Linked DNA regions of Homo sapiens: region 2 is linked to region 1. Evidence: promoter capture Hi-C in 16 types of primary human blood cells and fetal thymus (Javierre and others, 2016). All regions are on one chromosome and are shown on one strand. The core of a region is centred on a gene start or on the middle of the fragment in contact, and the rest is flanking DNA. Distances in the headings are between cores, read along the strand shown. Region 1 holds the start of BRWD3 (bromodomain and WD repeat domain containing 3). Region 2 has its middle 3.1 kb from the start of MAGEE1.

Region 1 (2,881 bases), core at 216-2,715:
TCGTTCTTTGGCTCTGCACCGAGCTCTAGAACCTCGTCGGCTGAGAGGTGGGGGGCGGGTTGGGGGTACAAGGTGGGGAGGGAGTGGTGAAAGAGTTAGGTTAAGTTGAAATGAAAACTTTACTCACCAGATCCTCGAAGCTTCTTCGGTGCTCTTTCCCCTCCCAATCTAAGCGGCGCGGAATCAGCTGGGGGCCGGACGAAAAGAAAGGGGGAAGCGGAGGCAAATGATGAAGGAAAAGCCTCCGCTCCCCATCAACTGGACCCAACCTGTGTCCCAGTCCTCAACACTTTACCGTCTTTATTTCTCTCGGCCTGATAGCTATTGGCTCAGAGCTAGACAAGTATATGGGGGGGGGGGGGAAGGGGGGTCGAGAAGGAAATCCTGAAAAACTGCCTCCCACAAGCATAAAGCGGGGACGAGTTAAGACCCCAGCGTTGTCTGCCCCTTTTGAGGGAAGAAGCCAATTCACCCCGGTGACAACAGCTACGGGTACCCAGATCGAAGCCTCTATCCCAGCCCGTCTTCCGCCCCTGACTTGCCCTCCCCTTCCTCCAGTCTCACCTCAACCCTCCCCACCCTTCCCGAAGGGGCTCCGTACCTGATGCTCCTCGAGCTCCTGCACTAGCACCTGAGCAAAAGGGAAACACAGATATGAGGAGCAGCTCGGGCCATCAACCCATTCCTCCCTCCACACTTAAAGCCCAGCCGCTGACCGTTTGACTAGTCAAGGCCGGCCTTTCCCTCACCCTCAACGGAACTGCTCGTCCCGCTGCCTCGATTTCCCCACTGGGACCATTCACCACGACTCCCAGATCTCTTTCTTCCCCTTACCTGAGCGGATTTGTTGCAGGGTCCAGACTGCAAGAACCTAGCGATCAGGTAATACAGCTCTGGGGAAGAGGGGGGAAAAGAGGTTCAGAGGGAGGTAGAGAAGAGAAATAGAAGCTTTTTCAAAAGAAACTGACAGCCTTCGCGCTAAGCCCCCATTCCCTTAGCACCCCCCCACCCCCCGACACAGCTACCCACCGGCTTCGATCTGGGTAGGTGCTGCCGCCATCCTTTTCCCGAGGGGGTTTGGGGGCTTCGCTCCGGAGGGGCTGGCGGGGGCGGGTGGGGGCGCTGCCTCTATTGTGGTGAAGCCCCCATGCCCGGGAGTCCCGCCGCTTCCGCCGCACTCCTCGTCCTAGTTTCGCTCTCTCTCGAATTCATCGCATCACGTTTCGACCCATAGATATTCTAGCCCAAGAGCTGAGGAGGCGGAGGAGGAAGGAGAGGAGAGGGAGAGGGAGAGAGAGAGTGAGTGAGTGAGAGAGAGAGAGAGAAGAGAGAGAGAGAGAGAGGAAAAAGAGAGAGAGAGAGAGAGAGAGAGAGAGAGAGAGAGAGAGAGAGACGCGGGGGGTGGGGGGGCGGAGAGAGAGAGAGAGAGAGAGATAGACGGAGCGAGAAGAGGGAGGAGCCGAAGTGGCGAAGAGGTGGGCGGGGGCAAAGGGGGTGGAGAGAGGGGAGGGTAAAAATGGTGATAGGGTTTTGCAGCGCTCATAGTTCCCCGCTAGAGGCACTAATACAGCAGCTGAGCCTAGACTCTCCCGGAGCCCGATGGTTGCTTAGCTACAGCTCTGGGAAGGAGGGGGAGGTGCTAACTGACGGCCGACGCTCTGGCAGCCGCCTTGGAACTCTGTGGTGGCATTCGCGTCTGCGAGCTCCGGAGTGACTTTCCCTTCCTGTGAAGGCAATCCGGCCCTTTCCGGTGGAGGACCCTTCCCCCTGGGTTGATCTTGAGGAACTTAAGAGACGGTGTTTTGACTCGACTCCTTTCCCCTTTTTCCTCCCGGTACCAAAGCGGTTTTGTTTGCTGTTTATACTCTACCCCGTGGAAAGGCGGCTAGCTGGCTAAAGGGTTTTATGCCTGGGGGAGGATGAGTCGCTATTTGGTCGTGACTTGTTTCTGTTTAAAATTATTATTATTTACCAAATGAAAATGTTGTACTTACCAGTCCAAAGTGCGGGGCTTATATTGTTAGAAGACCACTTAAAATGCTCCTGGATTCTGACAAATATTGCATGAGAAATTTGCAATCAGCCGTGAAGCATGTTTCCCCTTCTGAAAGTTTAACACGTGCCGTATCTACGGCTGGGATCTAACACATCCCATTCCTACAGGGTAATTTCCTATTGTGTTTTCAAATACTACTAAAGTACTTTAACCAAGAGTTTTCAATAATCTTTATGTATTATTGCCTATCTCTATGCAAGGTATCAATAGTTTTCTACAGGTTCGGGACTACACTGTTTAATATATAACCCCAACCCTTGGTACCGCACTGACCTTCAGTATTTGGTTGCTGAAATCTTCAATGATGAAAGGGGTTGGTATGATAATTGACACAGATTAGTAAACCGGGTCCTTTTCTTCCCTACTTTCCCGTAACATCCTGTCCCCACCCCACTCCCTCACCTAAACCTGATGAGACCAGAAATGCATTTTAAGTTGCATGTATTATTTACATTGAAATATTACAATTTGAAGGTTCATCTAAATTTAAGGCTATATTCTTGGGAATTGGGTTTCCTCACTCAGCTCTGCCACTGACCACAGTGGGCCTTGAATTTCTAAGTTGACATAAACTTAGCCTAGGTTGATTAGCTCTCACTTGTAATTTTTTTTTTTCCTCAGAAAGCAATAACCACAGGAGGTAATTGTGAAGTGATAGGCTTATCTTTGGTTGTTATTGCCATGGAACTTGACAAAACAAATATGAATAATTGATACAACAAAATGATATAAAAAGATACATGAGACCTAGACAACTCATTGCAAGTAGTTTAGCAAAATACCAGACTGAATAATTTTATAGTTGAAGTATAATGTACAGGTTGA
Region 2 (2,881 bases), core at 181-2,680, 4.4 Mb before region 1:
AATAAAAATGATGGAACAGGTGGCCTCCCACTAAAATTAGAACAACATCATCATAAACAGGGAAATAAATAGGCCAAATTTATAATATGATTGATGGTTATTTTTGAAATAATTTGCCCTACCTTTGAGGATCACATATGTGAGTACTCCACAGTTCAGAATCAAATTTGGTGCATGTATAAATTAATAACTTTTTAAAAACTGCCAAGAGATACTGTGAAGCTTACTCTAGACCCATGCAAACATTCTGATGCTATTTACTACTGGCAATCACCCGGAAACTCAAGCAAGGCACACCAATCCAAATAAGGAGGAACATTCATTTGCCTAAACCTGCAGATATCTTAAGTCACAGAAACACATATAATGACAAATTTAACTGCATGTTGGACTTGCTTCTGCCAATCTGATTCTAGCATTATGGATAGACAGGAACATGTAGCAAAGGGGTTATAATGTCACTCTACTGACTGAACAATTGAACAAATTAAAATCTGCTCCTTTTTCTAATCGATTCCCCTGGCTTTCCTCCATTACGTGGGCAGATTGGCTATGAAAGGGTTTTGAAATCCTTGTTTGTACCCTTATAGGATTCTGTCTCCTTTATTTCTGGCAAGAAACTTAGGCACTGCAAAATAACATACAATTTTAATTATAAGACAACATTGGGCCAGGGGATGGACTGTTATATGCATGAGCCAAAGATAGTCTCTATATATTGATTCTGCCAGTACCAAACTCAATTTTTTACACATCAATTGTTTTAAATATAGACCAATAAGTAGATTGTTAGCCATTTAGAGGCTGCCTTCTTTGCATGTCCCTGTGAAACTACAATCATCTGTTAGCTATAGATAGGATAAACTCCAGGAGATAAAAACCCTAACCTACTGCTGCCCTTCAGAGATCTCTGACCCAGCAACTCCCTGTCTTGCTGCTGAGAGACATCGCTACATGTATAAGCCATCTCTTTGATTCCCCTCCCTCTCTCCAGTTAGCTTGTCCTCTCATTTTCTAGGTTGTGACCTCCCACCAGCCTCTGGAAGATCTCAGACTTTGATTAACCCCATGCCCTTGCAAACCTGTCAAAGGGTTGACCAAATGAAACTCGTATGCTTATACACTGTTGGTGGGAATGTAAATTAGTAATAATAAACACTATATATAGTTCAACCACTATAGAAAGCAGTTTGGAGATTTCTCAAAGAACATAAAACACAACTACCATTCAATTCAGTAATCACATTATCGGGCATATATCCAGAAGAAAAGAAATCATTCAACCAAAAAGACACATACACTCATAGTTGTTTGCAGCCTTATTAACAAGAGCAATGACATGGAGTCAACTTAGGTGTCTATCACTGATATTTGCTAAAGAAAATGTGGTACATATATACCATGGAATACAACACAGCCATAAAAACTAATGAAATAATGTCCTTTGCAGCAACATGGATGCAGCTGAAGGCCATTATCCTAAGCGAATTTACACAGAAACAGAAAACCAAATACCATATGTTCTCATTTATAAGTTGGAGCTAAAGATTGGGTACTCATCAACATAAAGGTGGCAAAAACAGACACTGGAGGACTATTAGAAGGGGGAAGAAGAAAGGGGGTCATGGGTTGAAAAACTGTTGAGTATTATGCTCACTACCTGGGTGATGAGATCATCTGTTTTCCAAACCTCAGCATCATGCAATATACCCATATAACAAACCTGTGTATGTATCCCCAGAATCTAAAATAAAAGTTGAAATTCTAAAACAGACAAACAACAAAAACTCATTGTGTGTTACTGAAAACGTGTGGTAGTATATATTTTTCTTGATCAGTCCCCAAATCTCTTGCACTCACTTGTTTCCTATATTTTAATTCTACATATAAATTACACAAAACATATTATTATTATTGTTTTACATTGTCAATATGTCTGTTTACCCACATATTTATCCTTTCTATTACTGTTCGCTTCTTGCATCTCTTCAGTTTCAGAGGAGAACCTTTCAGTATTTCCTCAGTGTGGGTGTACTGGTGATCAATTTACTCAGCACTGATTTCTGAACATGTATTTATTTTGCCTTCATTTTTGATGTACTATTTCAGTAAGTTCAGAATTCCAAATTATCAGCTTACAAATCATTAAATTCCTTAAGTGACAAACTTGTATACAATGTAAGACTCACCTCTTTGCACTTCCCTTTTTTCTGAGATCATTACTCTTGAAGTCCTCATTGCCTTTATAGGTTTCTGATGCTATATTGGTAGCCTTTGTTGCCATAAAAGGGTTTCTTTACCTAAATTTCTGGGGTTTTTTTTCCGCAGGGCTGCTGCAATCAACTATACATTATTAGAAATGGAATTCTTTGATATCATTATAATGACTTACTGGTATTCCATTTTTAGTACCATAATTTCTTCAAATACTCTTTAGTTATTTAACATTCATTTAGTTTTCAGCTCTGTTATACTAGAACAAATTATATAATAAAAGTTATTTTAGCTAAATATTTGCACATATATCTTATTATTTCTTTAGAATATATTTCTAGAGGTAAAAATTTTTAGTTTATAGGTTTGAACAACTTCAGGGTCTTTAAAAATCACTGTACCCTAGGTTAGGAATATCTGTTGCTAAAGCTTAGAAATATCTTAGGTTTTTTTGTGCCTCCCATTCTGAATAGGCCCCAGGCATAAAAACTGCATTGGACTTCACAGAACCGAAACTGGTTATTCATATAAGGGATTGCTTCTCCAATTGGAGACAGAGATGGTGACACATTGTGACTGTAGCCAGTTATTTTCCCTTTCCTAAAGACGTATTAAAAAAAAGTATTGGAACCAACCCAAATGCCCATCAATGACAGACTGGATAAAG

The links. Contacts are between HindIII fragments. The CHiCAGO score rates a contact against its expected background, and 5 or more counts as called.
Region 2: a fragment that was not itself captured here is called in contact with the fragment with the promoter of BRWD3 in region 1 in 1 of 17 cell types (non-activated CD4 T cells); the score reaches 7.2 in non-activated CD4 T cells.

What each region holds. Positions count from the first base shown.
Region 1 is chrX:80,808,412-80,811,292 of GRCh38, forward strand. BRWD3 (bromodomain and WD repeat domain containing 3) reads right to left here and starts at 1,466. Exons shown (of 41, transcript NM_153252.5): 1 at 1,030-1,466; 2 at 835-893; 3 at 602-631; 4 at 128-187. The coding sequence starts at 1,060. It overlaps LOC124905202 (a long non-coding RNA gene), which reads left to right and starts at 397. Exons shown (of 2, transcript XR_007068278.1): 1 at 397-882. RefSeq lists an enhancer at 1,701-1,780. The HindIII fragment of the contact is 3,163 bases long and covers 947-2,881 here.
Region 2 is chrX:76,423,192-76,426,072 of GRCh38, forward strand. No RefSeq gene overlaps it. Among named protein-coding and RNA genes, the nearest start is that of MAGEE1, 3.1 kb to the right of the region's middle. The HindIII fragment of the contact is 2,421 bases long and covers 221-2,641 here.